7 separate regions of the Homo sapiens genome follow, and all the other regions are linked to region 4. The links are contacts of gene promoters, found by promoter capture Hi-C in blood cells and fetal thymus (Javierre and others, 2016). All regions are on one chromosome and are shown on one strand. The core of a region is centred on a gene start or on the middle of the fragment in contact, and the rest is flanking DNA. Distances in the headings are between cores, read along the strand shown. Region 1 has its middle 15 kb from the start of HSPA9. Region 2 has its middle 85 kb from the start of HSPA9. Region 3 has its middle 52 kb from the start of HSPA9. Region 4 holds the start of SNHG4 (small nucleolar RNA host gene 4). Region 5 has its middle 31 kb from the start of HSPA9. Region 6 has its middle 36 kb from the start of CTNNA1. Region 7 has its middle 69 kb from the start of HSPA9.

Region 1 (2,900 bases), core at 211-2,710, 680 kb after region 4:
AATAGGGTTAGACAACTGGCTGGTGGGGAGAAAGTGATCTAGGGAGAAGTGAGGGCCTATGGAAGTGCAGAAGCAACACTTCAAGGACCCGAAAGAAGGCCCGTGTTGCTGCAGTGAATCTATCAAGGAAGGGTTGCCGATATAAGGAGGTTGAAGGGACCAGCAGGAAGCTGGGAGATTTTTTTCTTTTTTAAGAGAATGGATCTCACTATGTCACCCAGGCTGGAGTGTGGTGGCTATTCACAGGCACACCATCATTGCACACTACAGCCTTGAACTCCTGGGCTCCAGTGATCCTCTTCTCAGCACTACAGGTGTGCACCACCACACCCAACTCTGGGTTTTTTTTTGTTTTTTTTTTTTTGAGACAGAGTTTCACTCTTGTCACCCAGGCTGGAGTGCAATGGCACCATCTCGGCTCACTGCAACCTCCGCCTCCCAGGTTTAAGCGATTCTCCTACCTCAGCCTCCCACGTAGCTGAGATTACAGGCGAGTGCCACCGCGCCCGGCTAATTTTTGTATTTTTAGTAGAGATGGGGTTTTACCATGTTGGCCAGGCTCGAACTCCTGACCTCAGGTGATCTGCCCTCCTCAGCCTCCTGAAGTGCTGGGATTACAGGCATGAGCCACCGCTCCCGGCCTTTGGGGGATTTTAAATGTTGATTAAGAACAAGCAAGTGGGCCAGGAGCAGTGGCTCATGCCTGTAATCTCAGCACTTTGGGAGGCTGAGGTGGGCAGAACACCTGAGGTCAGGAATTCGAGACCAGCCTGGCCAACATGGCGAAACCCTGTCTCTACTAAAAATACAAAAATTAGATGGGCGTGGTGGCCAGCTCCTGTAGTCCCAGCTACTCTGGAGGCTGAGACAGGAGAATTGCTTGAACCCGGGAAGCAGAGGTTGCAGCAAGCCAAGATCGCACCACTGCACTCCAGCATGGGCCACAGAGTGAGACTCCGTCTCCAAAAAAAACCAAGCAAGTGGAAAGTATAGAATCAAAGACTTGCAGGATGGGCAGTCACAGGATTTAAAGGTCATCTAGTCCCACCACCCAGATGATACTGGTATCTCCTCTGCTCATTTTTTATCACCAGATGAATCCAAATGGAGGCCAGAGAGGGGCTGGCATGAGGTCACAGCAGGCTGAGGTAAGGGAGTATCCATGAAGCCCCGAAGGCTGAGGCAGGAGGGTTCCGGGTTCCATTTCTCTGACCCAAGTATGAGTTGGAGCTGGTCTCTGGTCAAACTGCCTATTTGTGTGAGGACACTCATAGGACCAGCCAAGGAAAAGCAGATAACAACCATTCGTGTTTATTAACCATAGCACATTGGAAGGCTAATTGCTCTGAGCAGGTGTCGGGGAGGTTGATTTGTTCAAGAGGGCCTGGCTAGTTTGTATTCGTGACAGAGAAATCTATTGTTGAGAGCCGGGCAAGACAGCCTGTGAAGAAGCCAAAGAAGGGCAAAGCCAGCCTGACCAGCACCCAGAGGAGCTCTGGCCCATGGACTCGATCAAGGAAATTTGTTCATCATTATCAGGGCAAATGCTTCCTCCTGTGCTGGCAGCAGGACAAACAGGCTACTCCTTGGTGATACAAACCAGTGAAATATTCATGATTATATGACAATAATGAACCTGGCCCCTTCTTCCCTTCATCTTCCTGATTCTCACTGTGTGGCAGGGCTGTGTGTGCTCACAAACAGTCCTGTGTCCTCGTCATTATCATAATTAATCAATATTTAATAAGTGCCCCCCACACTATGAAAAGCCCTGTGGTGACTCAGGATACAAGAAAGTGGTAGTCTCTGCCCCGAGAAGGTTCACAAATCTAAATGAGGAAAGTAGAAACATGCACCAAAAGGTAAACCATAACCAATACATGGCTGCAGTGACATGGGTTTGGGATTTAAAAGGCCATCAAAAGGCCAGGTGCAGTGGCCCACACCTATAATCCCAGCACTTTGGCAGGCCAAGGCAGGAGGATCACTTGAGCCCAGGAGTTGGAGACCAGCCTGGGTGACAGACAGAGTGAGTCCCTGTCTCTACAAAAAAAAAAAAAAAAAAGAATTTTCTGAGACAGGGCCTCACTCTGTCGCCAAGGCTGGAGTGTAGTGGTGCAATCTCTGCTCACTGCAGCCTCCGCCTCCCAGGTTCAAGCGATTCCCCTGCCTCAGCCTCCCAAGTAGCTGGCACTACAGGCATGGCGCTGTCACATCCAGCTTTTTTTTTTTTTTTTTTTTTTTGTATTTTTAGTAGAGACGGGGTTTCGCCATGTTGGCCAGGCTGGTCTCAAACTCCTGGCCTCAAGTGATCTGCCTGCCTCCGCCTCCCAAAGTGCTGGGATTACAGGTGTGAACCACCGCACCCAGCCTACAAAAAGTTTTTTTAATTAGCCAACCATTGTAGTACATGCCTGTAATCCTAACTACTTGGCAGGCTGAGGCAGGGGGATCACCTGAGCCCAGGAGGTTAAGGCTGCAGTGAACTGTGATCATGCTACCGCACTCCAGCCTGGGTGATAGAGTGAGACACTGTCTCTCAAAAATAAATAAAAATAAAAGTAAAAAATAAAAAGACCATCAAAGACCACTGTAGAAGAACAAGACAGAGCCTAGAACTTAAGGAAATTGGCCTCAGAGCAGCATGATGCAGGAAGGTACTTCAAGCAGACTAGAAAGAGATGCTTTGGGGTCAGGAATGAGAATGTTTGTAGGTCCTGGAACAAGGGAACCCAGGCCTTGATCCCTGGCATGACAGCACCTAAGAAGGGAGCAAGACCCTAGAGAGGCCTGGCCTCATGGTATATCTAGGAGATAGGACCCCAGGCCAGAGGATGAGGCAAGGATGAAGAGCAGGCTGTCAGTACCTGGGCCTCAAGTGATGGTACAAATGATGGGAC
Region 2 (3,078 bases), core at 510-3,009, 610 kb after region 4:
ATAGGCAGCCCAGAAATAATTACCTCTTTGAGTGCTTTATTGGAATATGCACGTGCTTCCTGCTCTGTAGGGGCTCTTCTCTCCCAGGGCTGCTTCTTAACGTGAGGAATGAATTAGGCCTGTGAGGCTGCTGGAGCTGCTTCAAGGAGCGGGTGGAGGGTAGGTCCGCCTCAGGGAGGGACCTTATCCATCCCCTTTCCTGCAAAACCACATTATACGGACAGGTGTTTGGAGAGCCATCTGCAATCTGTCCGTCGCAAGCACCAAAGCCTCACCACGTTATGGTCCTAGAGTTACCCCCAAGGTCTTCCTCCAACCCTGCACTACGCCGGAAGCGCCTCGCGGAAGTGCCTCCCTGCGCTGGCTGAGGATGGGTGGCCCTGAGACTCGGGCTCTGAGCTCTGAGGGCTGCTTTGCTCTAGGCGTGCCCCCTCTATGCTGTTGCCCTGCGCCTCCTTGCTCGGGGCAAGGAAACAGAATGCTAATGATGATGAGTCCAGGTTTCCCTGGGTGTGGAACCAGCCAGATAGATGGATTCCAGCGCCACATCCTGGCTCCAGCCTCCAGACCTGCCACTGCGCCAAGATGGCCGCCTCCCCTGTGACTGTGGGCAGGAAATGAGGGGAGTGAACAGGCAGAAAGCGGAAGCGAAAGGACTGAAATGCAGGAACAGATTTCATTTTTTTCTGCCCCAAATCTGGTGGAGTGTTCCCAAGGTCACTGAGACTGTCTCCCTGACTCCAGCCCAGTCTGTGGCCTCCCAGCTTCCTAGGGAGCCCAACCCACACCCCCTGACTTGCTGGGCACCTGGACAGGGGGGATGAGGGACTTCAACTCCATGCAGTTATTTCAGCTCCATGATTCAGCTGAAATCCTCCGGGTTCAAGCTGTTGACTAGAATCTGTCTAAAATAATCACCCTCCTTTGATTTAGGCTATAATGTGGTGTTGAGGCACACGACCGAATGGCTGTTAGGGACATAAGGACCTCTAGGCCTGGGAACTCCTGTGGATGCTGCTTGAAGCTCCAGTGCTCCCGCAGGCCCACAGAAGTGTGGTGCTATGCCATTCCTCCCCAGTCTTGGCTTCTGGAAAACTACTCATTCTTCAAAATCCTGATCAAAGATCACCGGTTTGGCCAGATGTGGTGGTTCCTGCCTGTAATCCCAGCACTTCGGGAGGCAGAAGCGGGAGAATTGCTTGAGCCCAGGAGTTCCAGACCAGCCTGGGCAACAAAGTGAGACACTCTCTCTACAAAAATTTAAATATTAGTCAGGCACAGTGGCACATGCCTATAGTCTCGGCTACTTGGGAGAATCACTTGAGCCCAGGAGTCTGAGGCTGCAGTGAGCCATGATCTTGCCATTGCACTCCAGCCTGGGTGACAGAGCAAGACCCTGTCTGTAAAAAAACAGGATCACCTCTTCTTTGAAGCCTTCTCAGATCTGATCCCTTTTCAGGTCTAGCTAATTGCTCTCCTTTGAGTCAATACTTCATTCTGCAAATGGCCTGATCTTGAACAAGTTACTAATGATTATGGGACCTCTGTAAAATGGAGATGATAGATCCCTCACAGGGTTAGCAAGGAGTTAAAGGTAATGTATCTTTAAAACTTTGCATTGTACTTGGCACATGATCAGGGCTCAAAAAATGACGGTTTTTCGAGTGATAATGGCAGTGATTGCACTTTTTCAGTCATCCGTTTACATATCTGTCACCTCTAATAGATTGTGAACTCTTCAGGACAAGGACCACAGTTGAGTCACTGCTGTAGGCATGGCACCCTGGCTGGCTCAGAGTGAGCACCCAATACAGAGTAATGAATGTCAGTGTTGTCATTAAGACACTTACAATAATACCAACTGGCCTTTAACGAGTGTTTGCCATATGCTGGCCACTGTTCCAACTAGTTTACCAAGATTATGTCATTTCATCTTCACAGCAATCCTATAAAGCATTATCATCCCCAATTTACAGATGAATAAACTGCATCTTATCAAGGCTAGACAATTTGCCTGAGGTCTTACTGTAAGAAGTAGGAGATGGAGACAGTTCTTGAACCAGATCAGTCTGACTCCAGAGTTTTTGGTCACCCACCCAACTCCACTGCCCAGTGTGTTCTGTGCTATATTATAATCCTCAGGCCACCTGTCTTTCTTTTCTGCCTGTCAACAGGAATTGGGTTTGGTTTATTTCTGTAGCCACTAAACCCTGCACAGATCCTGGCACACAGTAGGCCACACAGTCAATATTTCTTGGATAAGTAGATGAGAAAAGGAGAAGGAGAAAGGAGATGGTCAAAGGCAATCAAGAAGATAGTAGGGCTGGGTGGGGCAAGAGATGTTCAGTTTTGGGGAGCCATGGGATGTGAGGCTTCAAGTGGGCAGGGAACGGTATGGCCTGGCCCTGGGGCTCACACACCTTTCTCAGGGCTCCTTGTCATTCCCACCATCCTGAGTGCAAGTGCATTTGGAAGGGCATTCCCTTGGGAACAGACTGAAGCTCAGAAGAATCCGGGCTGAAGGCTCAGGTGCCCCCCTTCTCAGGCAGCTCCTTCCCACTCCCAGGACCACTGGCCTGAGTTCGGGGAAACAAAAAGAGGTTTGCAGCATGTGAGCCAGCATTTGGGAGAAGAGCAAACAAGAGCAGACAGCAGCATCTCTGTGCCTTAGGAGACTAAACAGTGGGGGCCAGGGAGTCACCCCCCACTTCCTGAGCTCAACATTCAGGGCCTGACCTGACTCAGGAGGCTTGTAGCTTGGGGGAGCCAGCCTTGGTGGAGGTAAATCTCTCCTGTGAGTGGGTGGGTGCGTCTCTGGTTCCCTGTCCCATCAGCACCCTGGGGTGGGGCCTGCCCGCCAGCTGACCCCAGGACCTGGGTTGCAAGAACCCTTGCCAGCCACTCAGCCTGGCATCTTCAAGCCCAGCTGATGCTAGAGGGAGATGGAGTTTTTAATTTATATTTCTCGGCTTGATTCAGAGTCTGGGCAGCTATTTTGACTGCTTCACTGGAATATTCTTTAATCCTGAGTTTCTTTTTCTCATTATGGCTCGAAAATTAAAATCTCTCTGCCTTGGG
Region 3 (2,870 bases), core at 234-2,733, 650 kb after region 4:
CATATGGTATGTAATATGGCCTGCTGCAAAATCTTTGCCAGTACAAAGTCCCTTAGAAGGGGTCTTAGGGTAGGTAGGTAAACAGGACTAATACACTATATTGTGTATCTTTAGGCAAGTTACTTAACCTCTCTGGGCCCGTTGTTTTCTCATCTATACAAATGGGACCATAACTCCTACCTCATAGGGTTGTTGTAAAGATTAAAAGCCCACTGGAACTCCAAAAAAAGATGAAAGGGGACAACAAAAGTCTCAAAGTGCCTGGCACACAGTAGTTGCTTGATAAACATTGGTTTCCCTTCCCTTCCCTTCTATAGGAAAGGCCTTATTTTGTTCTCTCTTGTTCCCTTTGTTCTTCCTTTGTTCTCTCTTAATACATTTTGTTCTCTATTGCAGAAATGGGCCTCCTAGCCAACCACCTAGTAGGAGAGAAAGAGTCCCCTCTCTCTTTCTCTCTCTCTCTTTTTTTTTGAGACAGATTCTCCCTCTGTCACCCAGGCTGGAGTGCAATGGCACGATCTTGGCTCACTGCAACCTCTGCCTCCCGGGTTCAAGCGATTCTCCAGCATGATCCTCCCAAAGTGCTAGGATTAAGGCGTGAGCCACCACGCCCAGCCCCAGTCCCCTCTCTTATAATCCTGAAGAACCAGTATTGCTAACCCACTTCAAGAACCACTGGCAGGATGAGTGATGGGGAGCAAAGAGGGCGCCTATGTCAAAAGGAAGATAAATGTGCCTCATGCTTAGGAAGACACTATGATGGAATGCCTGGACAAAGCAGCATTTTTCTTTGAAATGCTATGAGACGATAAGAATGAAAATAGGTCTTCTCCAACTCGAGGGCCGAGGGCAGAAGAATTATTTCTCAGTGGTTACTCCATGCTCAAAGGAGTTGTCCTAGGCCTCATTGAATCATTGACTCAGCAAATATTTATAAAATGTCTACTATGTGGTTGTCTCTGCTTTCACAGAACTTATAGTCTCATCAGAGAGAGATAATAATCAAATAATCCTACTAATGAATATACAAATACAAACGACGATGACTATTATGAAAGAAGGGGGCATGATTCTATGAGAACTTTAAGAATCTGACCTAGACTGGGGAAACAGACCATGTTAAAGATTTGGACCTTTATTTTGAGAGCAATAGGAGGTTGTTGAAGGGTTTAAACAAGGTTTTGGCATAATCAGATTTGCATTTTGAAAAGATTGCTCTGGTTATAATGAGGAGAACAGATTGAAGGAGGCCTGTTGTGGTAATGCAGCAAGAGGTAATGGTATCTTGCTTTGGTAGTGGTGATGGTGGTAGAGACAGAAGTTATGGATTAAAGAGATATTAAGGAAATAACAGCATTGGCCGGGTGCAGTGGCTCACGCCTGTAATCCTAGCACTTTGGGAGGCTGGGGTGGGCAGATCACTTGAGGTCAGGAGTTCGAGACCAGCCTGGCCAACATGGTGAAACCCCGTCTCTACTAAAAATACAAAAATTAGCTGGGCATGGTGGTGCACACCTGTAATTCCAGCTACTCAGGAGGCTAAGACAGAAGAATCCCTTGAACCCGGGACATTGCAGTGAGCCAAGATTGTGCCTGAGTGACAGAGTGAGACTCTGTCTCAAAAGAAAGAAAGAGAGAAAGAGAGAGAAGGAAGGGAGGAAAGAAAAAAGGAAAGAAAGAAAGAAAAGAAAGGAAGGAAGGAAGCAAAAGAGGAAGGAAGAGAGAGAGAGAAAGAGAGAGAAAGGAAGAGGAAATAACAGCATTTACAGGACTTAATGATTGATTAGATACGGGGTGAGGAGGAACATGGTGACAATAAGGATTTGGGCTTATATAAATGGATGGAAGACCAGAAGTAAAGTCTTAGACATATTGCCTTTGGGACACCCAACTGCCAAAATTGAGCCGGCAGCTGGATACACAGTCTGGAGCTCCAGGGAGAGGTCACGGCTGGAGATGACAAATGTGTGGGTCATTTTCTCAGAGGTAGTTCAAAGGCAGTAGATGAGCTCACTTAAGGAGAGAGTAGAGTGAGAAGAAAAGAGGCCTAGGACCAACTCTCAGGAACTCAGACACGTCATTTAGGGCAGTGGATCTGAAAGTGTGCTCCATGCAACCCTGAGGGGGCCCCCAAGACCCTCTCAAGGGTCTGTGAAGTTAAAACTATTTTCTTTCCTTTTCTGTTTTTGTTTTTTGTTTTTTTCTGACAGGCTTTCCCTCCTGCTGCCCAGACTGGAGTGCAGTGGTGCGATCTTGGCTCACTGCAACCTCTGCCTCCCCAGGCTCAAGTGATCCTCCTACCTCAGTCTCCTGAGTACCTGGAACCACAGGTGTGCACCACCATACCCAACTAATTTTTGTATTTTTTGTAGAGATAAGTTTTGCCATGTTGCCCAGGCTGTTCTTAAACTCCCAGGCTCAAGTCATCATCCTCCCACCTCGGCCTCCCAAAGTGCTGGGATTTACAGGCGTGACCCAGTGTGCCCTGCTAAAACTATTTTCATAATAGTGTAAGATACGATTTGCCTTTTTCATTGTGTTGACATTTGCACTGATGGTGCAAAAGCAATGGTGGGTAAAACAGACTGCACCTCAAAACAAATCGAAGCAGTTGTGCTAACCTGTGCTAGTATTCATAGTACACTTCACTGCCATGCACATGCACTAAAAAAATTTCACGTTTACTTAGGAATGTTCTTCATCAAATGGTAAAGATTATTAATTTCTACTAAATCTCAATCCTTGGGTACTTTTTAAAAAATATTCTGCTGGGCGCAGTGTCTCATGCCTGTAATCCCAGCACTTTGAGAGGCCAAGGCAGGCAGATCACCTGAGGTTGGGAGTTCGAGAACAGCCTGACCAATATGGAG
Region 4 (3,082 bases), core at 427-2,926:
TGGAGTGCAGTGGCACAATCATGGCTCACTGCAGCCTCCACTTCCTGGGCTCAAGTGATTCTCCTACCTCAGCCTCCTGAGTAGCTGGGACTACAGGCGTGAGCGAGCACACCAAGCTGAATGGGGATATTACTAATAGTCCTCTGTAAATAGGGTGGTTGGGAGGCTTAAGTGAAATATAAGCTAATCCTCAGGATAATGTCTGGTATAGTGTGGGCACTCAGTAAACACCTGAGGAGCTACATTCCAAAAAAGGCTTAGATGGTGAATATGAGTGAGTAAAAAGGGAAAAGTTATCCAGTGAGAGAAACGGGCAGTGAACAGTGGGAACACTGGATAGAGGAGGGCCTCCAATACTTCCTGAAGGACAATAAAAACAGCACTTGGAAAAATAACTGCAGTATTGGATGTGAGGGGAATTGGAGGCAGTAGTCGTGCCAAGACCTCAACTACTGATTAAAAGCAATAACGAAAATGTTAGGCCGGGCGCGGTGGCTCACGCCTGTAATCCCAGCACTTTGGGAGGCTGAGGCTGGCGGATCACGAGTTCAGGAGATCGAGACCATACTGGCTAACACGGTGAAACCCCGTCTCTACTAAAAATACAAAAAAAAAAAAAAAAAAAAAAAAAAAATTAGCCGGGCGTGGTGGCGGGCACCTGTAGTCCCTGTTACTCGGGATGCTGAGGCAGGAGAATGGCATGAACCCAGGAGGCGGAGGTTGCAGTGAGCCGAGATCGCCCTACTGCACTCCAGCCTGGGCAACAGAGCAAGACTCCGTTAAAAAAAATAAAAATAACCAAAATGTTTGCACAAATGATAATAAATATTCCTACACAGTCACCATTTTTTTTTAGACGGAGTCTTGCTCTGTTACCAGGTTGGAATGCAGTGGTGCTATCTCGGCTCACTGCAATCTCTGCCTCCCGGGTTCAAGCGATTCTCCTGCCTCAGCCTCCCGACTTCAGGCGTGCGACACCACGCCCAGCTAAGTTTTGTATTTTTAGTAGAGACGGGGTTTCACCATGTTGGCCAGGATGGTCTTCTTCTCTTGACCTCGTCATCCGCCCGCCTCGGCCTCCCAAAGTGCTGAGATTACAGGCGTGAGCCACGCGCCCGGCCTCACAGTCACCATTATAATTTATGTAAGGCTAAGATCATACCTTTTTCCAGCCATCCCCAAATTTCACTCCTGACTTCCTCCAAATAATTTAGAGGAACAGGAAAATGAGTAGAGAGGGTTCATTGTTCGCTGGGTCTAAAAACAGATCTAAAAATAGCCTGCCCCTTTCAAGGCTCGGGTTAAAGGGGCTGACTCAGTTCCACCGGACATTTGTTCCTCACAAACCTTCCAAAGTCCCTGCCTCTGGCCCTGGGAGATCGAGGCTCTCGGAGTCAGGCTCTATGGGACTCCCTAGGGAGAAGAGGGAAGAGGGATGGTAGAAAAACAGGGGACGACTCCGAGGCCCAAGTCTCTTTCAGATGCCCTCCAAGCTCGGGATCACGAGGGGACGAACCCCAATTTCGTCCCGTGCCCCGGCAGAAGCCACCCTGCACTGCTTCTTTCCCCAGGCTGGGAAACCTCCAAGGACTCTCCCCTCTGGGTCCTTACTCACGCGCACGTGTTCGGAGCTCCGCAGGGCGCAGCAGCACCGGCAGAGGCCGGAGGGGAAAGGGCAGCCGGGAGCCGAGGGGAACCCCGCCCCGGGGCGGCTACTGGGCGTGGCTTCGGTGGGCGGGGCCCTTGACCCCGCCTAGGAAAGGCCGGGCTTTAAAAAAAAAAAAAAATGCGAGTGCGGTGGCAGAGGTGAACCTGCTTCTTAGAGGAGAGAAGGGCTGGGGTCTGAGCAATGGCTGGGTTTGTTGGACTCCCATCCCATCTCTTAAGGGTAGAAGGGGCGCATAGTTCGCAGCTGCTCAGGAGAGAATCTGTGTGTCCTAGTGGAGCCAGGCTTCCTGCCTGCCCACACTGAGCGCCCCCGGAACGCTGGTTCCGCTCACGAGCGTGGCGCCTTTCCGTTGCTGCAGGCCCAGCCCACGCTTTTGCGCTTCCCACGCATATCCTTTTTCTGGCTTTCTGCGGCAGCGCTGTCATTCGGCTAATGGATCGCTCACCCACGCAGGTCACCTTGGTCCACGGTCTTCGGGATCTTTCCAGGAGGTTTTCGAATAGATTAAGCCAGTCACTCCTACTGCTGACCTCTGCAGGACCGGCCTCCCTAGTGCCCTGCAGTGGGATTCTTCGCCGAGCTGCAGTAACTGAAGAACACTGGCTTTCTCTGCTAGACTTGCCCTGCACCATGGCACAGTCAGGCAGAGTCCTTGGTCAGGACAGACTGCCTGCAAGGCTACCAGGATTTCTTTGGAACACTAAAACTTCCCTCTCCCAGTGGCTAGAGTCCATATGATTCTGCTGGGGTCCAGAGTGGAAGGCCTACAAGCAGTGATTCCCAACTCCATTCTCTAATTCCCCCAAATTCCTTTCCGACACCCGCCCCCCAACAACAACAACCAATCCTGTAAGTTTTGCTGATCTCTTGCACCTGGCACCATTGCCAGGTGAACCCCTGGGAACCAAGCCACTGCCCTTGGCATCTGCCAACATGTTTCATTGTCTATTTCCTCAGCTCTTTCATAATGAAAAAGGTATGCTTCTTGTGCACCCCAACTCTTGCAGACCTCTCCTAAGAAAGCCCAGAGCCCCAGTTTGATTCCAGCAAGAGACCCTAGGCTGTAGGGCCAAAGAGCCACTGGAGGGGAAGTGGCAAGCTCAAATCCTCCCCAGTTTTGATGCAGTTGGACATAGGCTCTGGTTGGGAAAAGGCTTACATAAATACAGTAATTTAAAAAGTCACATGACCAGTGCTGGGCTGGTAGGCAGGAGCTCTGCTTTGCAGTTAAATAGGAATGTGGCTGAAGACTGCTGCCATAATCAATGCCCACATCCGGCTGTCACAGCGTGTTCATAAAGGAAGGTTATGAGAGCTATAAAACCAGGCAGATTGGGTGGGTAATTGTCCTACCGAGCTCTGCTAAAGGAGAAATTGCATTGGCATCTCATATATTTCGCTTTCTTTCCTTCC
Region 5 (2,782 bases), core at 141-2,640, 670 kb after region 4:
GTATAGGCCAGGCATGGTGGCTCACGCCTGTAATCCTACCACTTTGGGAGGCTGACGCAGGCGGATCACGAGATCAGGAGTTTGAGACCAGCCTGGCCAACATGGTGAAACGCTGTCTCTACTAAAAATTAAAAAATTAGCCAGGTGTGGTGGCGCATGCCTATAATCCCAGCTACCCGGGAGGCTAAGGCATGAGAATCACTTGAACCCAGGAGGCAGGGGTTGCAGTGAGCTGAGATGGTGCTACTGTACTCCAGCCTGGGAGACAGAGCAAGACTCTGTCTTAAATACATAAATAAGGCTCAGCCGGGCATGGTGGCTCACTCCTGTAATCCCAGCACTTTGGGAAGCTAAGGCGGGTGGATCACCTGAGGTCAAGGGTTCGAGACCAGCCTGGCTAACATGGTGAAACCCCGTCTCTACTAAAAATACAAAAATAGGCCGGGTGTGGTGGCACACACCTGTAATCCCAGCTACTTGGGAGGTTGAAGCAGAAGAATTGCTGGAACCTGGGAGGTGGAGGCTGCAGTGAGCCGAGATCATGCCACTGCACTCCAGGAGACAGAGTGAGGCTCTGTCTCAAAAAAAAAAAAAAAAAAAAAAAAAGGAGAAAAGAAGAGAAAAGAAAGAGATAACATAAATAAAGAGAAGAGCAATTAGCACAGTAACCACTCAACAACTTTCTCCTCCTCCTCCTCCTCATTACTTGGTTTACAAAACACTTTCTCATCAATTATCTCATTTGATATTTGCAATAACCCTGTGATTGGGTATGGCAGGTGCTACTGTTTCCATTTCACAGGTAAAAACACTGAGGCTCAAGATGATTAAATACATCATCCAAGTCACAGAGCAGAAACAAACCCAGGTGTTCTGACTCCACATAGCACAAGCTTCTCTCATTGTGGGGAGAGCAGAGGGCAATGTAAGCAGGCAGAATAACAGGAATGAGAGAAAGAAGCAGGGAGCGTTGGTAAACCCAACTGCCTGTCATTTGCACCAGGCATGCTCTCTCAAGAGGAGCCTGTACCCTCTGCCTTCTAGGTAGTCTTCATATTCCCAGATCACAAGTCCTAGCTCAGGAAAAGGAGCAACTTACTGGTGGACAGCCTCAACAGAGCAGGAAAATTGTGAACAAGAGAAATTCACCACCTCTACAGTCTCATTAACACTGCAGACCTACACACACATGCACCAGACCTGCAGGTTGTCAGCGGTTAGTTACTAAGCCTGAGGCCTGAAATAAATTAGGCTGCGTCTCAGAAAAAACAAGGTTATGTTACTCATATTAAGTATTCGTGTGGATTAAAATGCCATCTACTGTTTTGTGGGTCACCTTTCTTTTCTCAGGGCCCTGCTGAGTGGCTGGAAGGGTTATCTTCCACATGCGCTACTCAGACTCTGTCCTGTCACCTCCCAAAGGGGACTGGCCGAATTGAACCACCTACCCCTTGTCTATCAGAGCCAGGCTATGAGGCCCCCGGGTAGGGGCTTCAGTGCCTGCCTTTGGAATAAAGCTGCCTTCTAGGGTTGCCCCTGGCAACCAAACTGCTTGAATGTCTGTATCTCTTAGAGGAGACTTGGGAGTTGGGGAGGAGGAGGATTGGTCCCTGAACCACAGGATGCAGGGAGCATGTGAGGCATTGTCCCCCTTTCCACCTTTCAGCCCCTAGACCCCACCTCCTGATGACAACAAGTGTTGTCCCCTCACCTGGCTTCTGCAGGTCAGCAGAATTAGCCTGAGATTCTCCCTGAGGACAGAGAGGTTGGGGAGAACCTGCCTGCTTAGCCTATTGCAAAGATCCAGGTACCCAACACATCTTTGGACAGTTCCTGGCATACCATATGCCTTCAAATGCCTAACACCATTTCGTCCTTTAAGCTTCAACATCCCCTTCTCCAGGAAGCCTGCCCTGACTTGCCTTTTGTGACCTAGGCAGAGATAGTGTCCCTGCCTGCGAAACCCTGAGTATCACTCTATCATAATACACATCACTCCATTGTAGATGTATCTGTTTTTATTAGTTTCTTTAGGTTAAGGAGTGTGTATTATTCTAGCCCAGGACCTGGCACATAGGCACAAAATAAATGCTTATTGAATAGGTAAGTGACTGAGTGAGAACACAGGACTGTGACAGGAGAGCATTTCCCAAACCAGCAGTCCTGTAGTCCATTGTAGATTAGTGGGAATGTTGCAAAAAATAAAAAGGAGTTCTTTGCTTAGATAATGTTGGGAAAGAAACTCCCTCCCTTCCTGAGGCAGGAAGGAGCTCTTCAAGCACTGGCCAGAGGAAGCAGAATGTGCAGAGCACAGAGGGGCCTGAAATGATTCAGCTGCATCCACAGTATAGGGTGTGCAGGGGGAAAAAGGAACCAAGACAGTCCTGAAAGCTGAATTGATGCATTTGGGACAGGAGAGTGGCAAGCTCCAAGCCTCATGTTAGGAAGACAGATCTGGCCAGGTGTGTAGGGTGGACTGGAGGGAAGAACCAGCTGGCAGGGACACTTGTCAGGAAACTGTTGTGACAGTGCAGACTTGATCTGTAAAGGGTCTAGACAAGAGCAGTGACAGAGGGAAATGAAAGCAAGAAATAAACCACCCAACTCTATTGGATGGCTTCTTCATCAGCCCGGGGACGGCAGCTGCTGCCTGACCCTGGTTAATTACCAGCCTGTGGTTGCCATCTGAGCTGACTGGCCACCAAACACTTGGTGCTCTGCAGAAGTCCTAGCTGCCCTGGTGCTGAGTGGTGTGGGGTGGAGGGTAAGTCTAGGAGAGCAT
Region 6 (2,940 bases), core at 47-2,546, 560 kb after region 4:
ACTTTGGGAGTCCAAGGTGGGCAGATCACTTGATGTCAGGAGTTCGAGACCAGCCTGGCCAACATGGTGAAACCCCATCTCTACTAAAAATACGAAAAATTAGCTGGGCATGGTGGTAGGCACCTGTAATCCCAGCTACTCAGGAGGTTGAAGCAGGAGAATCACTTGAACCCAGGAGGCGGAGGTTGCAGTGAGCCGAGATCACGCCACTACACTCCAGCCTTGGTGACAGAGCTGTCTCAAAAATAAATAAATACATAAAAATAAAACATGGCTTCAAATTTTTTGACCCTTCTCTCATCAAGAAGTGGGGGCCAATTCTATGTCCTCTTTCCTTGAATCTGTACAGGTTGGTGACATCTTTGCCTATAGAGGATGGTGGAAATGATGACATGTGACTCCCAAGGCCAGGGTATAAAAGGCCATGAAGTTCCTGCCTTGTTGGCTGTGACACTCACTCTTGGAACCTGAAGTCACCATGTAAGAAGTCCCAAAGGTTACCATGCTTTGAGGAAGCCCCAGCTGTGTGCAGAGGCCATATAGAAATGCTTTGGTTGGCAGTCCCAGTTGAGCCCAGTTTCAAGTCATCCTAGCCCAAGCACCAGACATGCAAATGAAAAAGCCTCCAGTTAATTCCAGCCATTAAAGACACCCACCCTCTCAGGTATGCCAGCTAAAGCCCCAGACATCATGAACCAGGGGCTTCAGGAATTGCCATTGTACCGCGTCCAAATTACTGACCCATAGAATCTGTGAGCACGATAAATTTTTTAAATTTTTTTATTTTTTGTAGAGACAGGGTCTCCCCATATTGCCCAGGCTGGTCTTGAACTCCTGGCCTCAAGCAATCCTCCCGCCTTGGCCTCCCAAGGTGTGGAGATTATGGGCGTGAGCCACTGCACCCAGCCCATTTTTTTTTTTCCCCTAATGCCACTAAGTTTGAGATTGTTGCACAACCATAGGTAATCATAGCAGTATTATTATTCCCATTGTACAGATGTGGAAACTGAGACTTGGAGAAATTAAGTTTTAAGGCAAGTGACAGGACAATTTGCACGCAGGTCTGTTTGACTGTAAACTCCATCTTTCCCACTACAGACACAATAAAGGATGGGGTGAAGGGACTAACTGGGTTGGGGGAGGGAATCATACTGTTGTACTTTTCCTCATTTAAACCATACCCCAAATTCTGCACTCACCTTCTCATCACAGGGCAGACACGCTCACACACTTCAATTCCTGGGGACATTGGCAAAGATCGGTCCAGCTTCCCTGACTGGTTGATGTCTGATGCTGAGTGAAAAAAGCTGGAACAGAATCTCTGGGTCTGGAGGCCTCATCTCCAGCAGCGCAGACCTGTATGCTGGTGCCTTATTGACCCATTTTTCAGGCAGATCCTGCTCTCCAAAGATGCTCTGAGCCATGACCTGTCTGATAACCAGTCAGTAGCCCTTTGAAGATTAGCCTAAAAAAAATGGGTCCACTGGTGGGGTGGAGATGAGGCAGGTTTAGTTCTTTGTTTCCTGCAGAGAGAGGATATGAGTCTGCTCTCTCTTCTTCCCTGTTTACAATAGCGCTGAGGGTTTCATTTCATTAGTCTTTATAAAGTCTCTGGAAGATGTCAGGTGCCAGGTGCTATAATAAGTGTGAAATTTAACTACCTTTTCATCAAGGCAAAAAATCCAGCCTGCAGACATTCAAGGGCAGGGAATCTGCTTGTAAAAGACAGGAACCCTATTGTCAACTTTAAATAAATTGCAACTGAAGCATGATCTGGCACCAAATTATCACAGCAAGTCCTCTCAGGGGCTCTTGCTGACCAGCAAGGGATCAGCAATAAGAATGTGGTCTTGGAAAGGGGCCAGGTTGAAGCCAAACCGCTGCTACCTCTCATGGCCAGGGGTTTCCAATGGCCCGTCATTTTTTCCCCCTGGAATATACCATTCTCCCTACAGAGGCTCACTGTCCTGCTCTGCAGGCCTTCTTCAATACCCACCCCACATCCTCTCAGCCCCACCTCCCTGCGTCCCTGCTATTGCAATTATTTCTGGTGAGCCCTGCTGGCTGAGTTTTCTAAAGGTACAGCCCTGACCATTATTAACCCTTGAAGAGCAAAATGCCAGGCAGGGGGTGGTAGCTCACGCCTGTAATCCCAGCACCTTGGGAGGCTGAGGCTGGCGGATCACCTGAGGTCAGGAGTTTGAGACCAGGCTGCCCAACGTGGGGAAACCCTGTCTCTACTAAAAAAAATACAAAAAATTAGCCAGACGTGGTGGTGGGCACCTGTATTCCCAGCTACTTGGTAAACTGAGGCAGGAAAATCGCTGGAACCTGGGAGGTGGAGGCTGCGGTGAGCTGAGATTGCGCCATTGTACTCCAGCCTGGGCAACAAGAGTGAAACTCCGTCACAAAAAAAAAAAAAAAAAAAAGAGCAAAATGCCAATAGTGCTGTGTCATAGGGGGCATACCTTCTATTTACAGATGCTTTTTCAGATCACAGGGACTAGGCAAAGAGAGGATTTTACTTTAATAACAAGCAGGTGCTTAGAATTAATGCAAGGGAGAAAAAGCCATGAAGGAATCTGAGCAAACAGTGGAGAATCCAGGTCAAAACCAGAGGAGACATTGGGCAGCATATCGAAGAAGGTTCTGGACCAAAGCCACTAGGAGCAGCTTTGTTCAATTCCATAGGGAAGCAAATTAGCATTTACTGAGCTCTTACTATATGTCAGGCGCTGCCGATGATATTTTAATATATTATTTAGTTCTCATTGAAAACCTGTGAGCTCCCATTTTGTGAATGAGTAAATTGAGGCTCAGAAAGAAGTAATTAATTAACTGAGGTGATTGTCCCAAATCACACAGGTAGTATGGGAAGGATCTGGGATTCAAACCCAGATTTCCCACATTCTCTATTTTACCTACTGCTAGAGAGAGGTA
Region 7 (2,964 bases), core at 83-2,582, 630 kb after region 4:
TTAAATAAAAAAGAAAAAAAAAGCTGTTAAAGGCTGGGCATGGTGGCTCAGACCTATAATCCCAGCATATTGGGAGGCCAAGGTGGGAGGATCGCTTGAGGCCTGGAGTTTGAGATCAGCCTGGGCAACATAGTGAGACCTCATCTCTTTTTAATTAAAAAATTTTTTTAAAAAGCTGTTAAAATGTTATCATTATTATTACTATTCTGATTTTTATTATCATTGCGTGTGCCTCTGTTTACTTGTCTGTAAGATAGAAATCATGATTAGACCTAATTCAATGAGTAGTTTGCAGATTTCATGAGACAAAACACGTAAAATGCCTTGAACAGCACCTTAGCCATGGGAAGTGTCAATTAATAGGAGTGATCCCTATACTCCCCTCCTTACCCCCACCCCAGGCCTTCAGATTACCTACTGGGGAGCCACCACCAAACTGGCCCAAACTCCCAGTTCCCTAAGTAGTAGGGGCTATGAAAACGAGGTTTCTGGAGCTGTAGTCAGGGAAGCCATTCCTTTTTCCTTTTTTTTTTCCTCCATCCCTGCCCTCTGCGGAAGTCATTCCTAATTGCAATGCCAGTGAACTTCAAAGTCACTCCTGTCTGGGAAGGAGGCTTTGATCTCTGTGCTTCCTCATTTCTGTCTCAAGCCTGAGGTCCCCTGAACAGGCCGATGTCCAGCTAATGCCCAGTGTCCTGGAGAAAAGGAGTAAATGTTCGTTTAGAATGGAAAAAGTTTTGCCCCTATACAGAGGGCCTGGTATCAGGCTTGGGGTGGGGGGACACACAGGAGGATGGATAAGGTCTGCACCTCTTCCAGGTGCCTAAGTTCCCTGTCTTCTGTTGGTCCAGCTGAGGCCTTATTTCAGCAAGGAGATCTGAGATGTGGCTGAGGAGGGTGGACTGCTCCCAAATCCTCACTGCCTTCTCCTCTGAAAATACCAACACTCCTCTGGGCCCTGTCATGCTTTTGACCTTTGAGAGGGATGAAGAAGCTGATTTGCGATGGGCTTTGAACAGATACAGTTTCCTCATCCTTGGCCCTTCCCACAGATGTGCACCTCACTGGTCCATTCCCACACTGGTTTCACAGGTGGGTGTCTCAGGGGTCTGCAGTGTGTGCCGTGATCTGCAGCTGGGAGAATTTAGAGGAAACCTCAGGGAAAACGTCCTTGGTGAAAGAGCTGAGAGACGCAAAGAAAAGGCTACAGGCCCACGCAATTTTCTTCTCTTCAGATTTTCAATCAGAGAAGGCCTCTTCCCTACCCCCTACTGCCCTAGAGAGCTCCAGAGTTAATGCCTCAGTAGGGCTGGGCTGGAGCTGAGGCTGGGTATCCACCCGTAGCTGTCAGGACCCTTAGGGCATTTTAAAAGGGTAGGGCAACCCCACACCACCCCCAAGGCAACCCTGTGGCCCTGTGGGATGAGGTAGACCCCTGAAGTCCTGAGAGTTTCTACAGAGCCAGGCTCTAGGGCAGGGGTGTCTAATCTTTTGGTTTCCCTGGGCTACATTGGAAGAAGAACTGTGTTGGGCCACACATAAAATACACTAACATGGGCCAGGAGCAGTGGCTCATGCCTGTAATCCCAACATTTTGGGAGGCTGAGGCAGGTGGATCACCTGAGGTCAGATGTTCAAGGCCAGCCTGGCCAACATGGCGAAACCCTGTCTCTACAAAAATACAAAAATTAGCCGACATGGTGGCACGAGCCTGTAATCCCAGCTACTCGGGAGGTTGAGAGACGAGGATCACTTGAACTGGGAGGCGGGGAGGTTGCAGTGAGCCAAGATCATGCCACTGCACTCTAGCCTGAGCAATAGAACAAGACTTCATCCCCACCCCGCCCCAAAAAACAAAAAAACCCACTAACACTGATAGCTGTGAGAAAAAAAAAAATCGCAAAAAAATCATGTTTTAAGAAAATTTATGAATTTGCATCGGGCTGCATTCAAAGCTGTCCTGGGCCACATGTGGTCTTGGGTTGGCAAGTTTGCTCTGGGGGAACAGATGACTTGGTCAGATGGAAGGGTGTAGACATAGGGATGACTTGGGCATGTCCCAAGTACAAGTCCACAGACTCCAGACTTGGCCTGTGCCCTCAGCTCTGCTGGCAATGCCTTTGTTGGCAGCCCAGAGGTCCCATCCTCCACACCAGCCACCACACCCAGGACTGCTCCTCATCCTTTGGACAGAGAGAATTTGGAGGTGCTAGAAGCCAAAAAGCCAGCCTTTTCTTTTGGGGCTGTGTAACCTGATACAGGCATCGTACCCCCCACCCCATCCCCCTAAGCCAGTGCTCATGCAGGCCCTGTTACTGGAAGGAGAAACTCCCAAGTGTGGGAGGCTTTGGGGTGACAGGGTGGGGAGGAGGAAGCCCGAAGAAGACAACTGGGAAGAAAGTCCTAACAGTGTCAGCTCCAGGTAAGGAATGTGCTGCACCCTGCCGACCAGCTCAGTACTCTAGGCTCAGCCCATCCCCATCTGATGGGGCCAGGAAGAGTCACAGAGGACTGTGAGATCTGGGAGAAAGAGAGAAAGCCATTTTTTTTTTCATGATGAAGAAGGTGGTGAGCAGGTCATGGGCAATAGCAACACAGATTAACCTGGGAAAAAGTTCTGAAGAAAATTGGGACATTCAGCTCTGCCAAGACAGTCAGACCAGGGTGAGCTACTGGGGGCTGGCAAATGGTCAGGGGTTACACTGTCCCCAGCCTAGGACCCAGCCAGCCTTGGCCGTGGCCCCAGACAAAGACTTGCCCCACTTGCTGATCTCCCAGAGGCAGAGGCCAGATTCCTTCCAGCCCAGGGAGTCTCTGGACAAGTCATAAAAGTGTTTCCTCCAAGTCTCTGTCTGGTCCTGCTAGAAAAAAATTGTCCATCTGTCAGTCTGCAGGTGAGTGGGGCTGGGTGCCGTGACTTACGCCTGTAATCCCAGCACTTTGGGAGGCTGAGGCAGGAGGATT

Evidence for each region. The method cuts DNA at HindIII sites, captures the fragments that hold promoters and counts their contacts. A CHiCAGO score of 5 or more calls a contact.
Region 1: a contact is called between a fragment that was not itself captured here and the fragment with the promoter of SNHG4 in region 4, in 7 of 17 cell types (erythroblasts, endothelial precursors, megakaryocytes and 4 more). The highest score is 10.4, in erythroblasts.
Region 2: a fragment that was not itself captured here is called in contact with the fragment with the promoter of SNHG4 in region 4 in 1 of 17 cell types (M1 macrophages); the score reaches 5.4 in M1 macrophages.
Region 3: a fragment that was not itself captured here is called in contact with the fragment with the promoter of SNHG4 in region 4 in 4 of 17 cell types (endothelial precursors, M0 macrophages, M2 macrophages and 1 more); the score reaches 8.9 in endothelial precursors.
Region 5: a contact is called between a fragment that was not itself captured here and the fragment with the promoter of SNHG4 in region 4, in 3 of 17 cell types (megakaryocytes, M0 macrophages and erythroblasts). The highest score is 7.2, in megakaryocytes.
Region 6: a fragment that was not itself captured here is called in contact with the fragment with the promoter of SNHG4 in region 4 in 1 of 17 cell types (erythroblasts); the score reaches 5.2 in erythroblasts.
Region 7: a fragment that was not itself captured here is called in contact with the fragment with the promoter of SNHG4 in region 4 in 3 of 17 cell types (endothelial precursors, activated CD4 T cells and M0 macrophages); the score reaches 12.2 in endothelial precursors.

What each region holds. Positions count from the first base shown.
Region 1 is chr5:138,589,016-138,591,915 of GRCh38, reverse strand. No RefSeq gene overlaps it. Among named protein-coding and RNA genes, the nearest start is that of HSPA9, 15 kb to the right of the region's middle. The HindIII fragment of the contact is 3,000 bases long and covers 1-2,900 here.
Region 2 is chr5:138,659,070-138,662,147 of GRCh38, reverse strand. No RefSeq gene overlaps it. Among named protein-coding and RNA genes, the nearest start is that of HSPA9, 85 kb to the right of the region's middle. The HindIII fragment of the contact is 6,224 bases long and covers 1-3,078 here.
Region 3 is chr5:138,625,621-138,628,490 of GRCh38, reverse strand. No RefSeq gene overlaps it. Among named protein-coding and RNA genes, the nearest start is that of HSPA9, 52 kb to the right of the region's middle. The HindIII fragment of the contact is 4,392 bases long and covers 1-2,870 here.
Region 4 is chr5:139,272,695-139,275,776 of GRCh38, reverse strand. SNHG4 (small nucleolar RNA host gene 4) reads right to left here and starts at 1,676. Exons shown (of 7, transcript NR_182757.1): 1 at 1,616-1,676; 2 at 1,163-1,413. It overlaps LOC124901081 (a long non-coding RNA gene), which reads left to right. Exons shown (of 4, transcript XR_007058956.1): 4 at 2,123-2,710. It also overlaps a transcript of MATR3 not described here. RefSeq lists a silencer at 1,603-1,682 and an enhancer at 1,973-2,322. The HindIII fragment of the contact is 4,492 bases long and covers 1-3,082 here.
Region 5 is chr5:138,605,295-138,608,076 of GRCh38, reverse strand. No RefSeq gene overlaps it. Among named protein-coding and RNA genes, the nearest start is that of HSPA9, 31 kb to the right of the region's middle. The HindIII fragment of the contact is 989 bases long and covers 896-1,884 here.
Region 6 is chr5:138,715,654-138,718,593 of GRCh38, reverse strand. No RefSeq gene overlaps it. Among named protein-coding and RNA genes, the nearest start is that of CTNNA1, 36 kb to the left of the region's middle. The HindIII fragment of the contact is 4,843 bases long and covers 1-2,940 here.
Region 7 is chr5:138,642,705-138,645,668 of GRCh38, reverse strand. No RefSeq gene overlaps it. Among named protein-coding and RNA genes, the nearest start is that of HSPA9, 69 kb to the right of the region's middle. The HindIII fragment of the contact is 3,641 bases long and covers 1-2,964 here.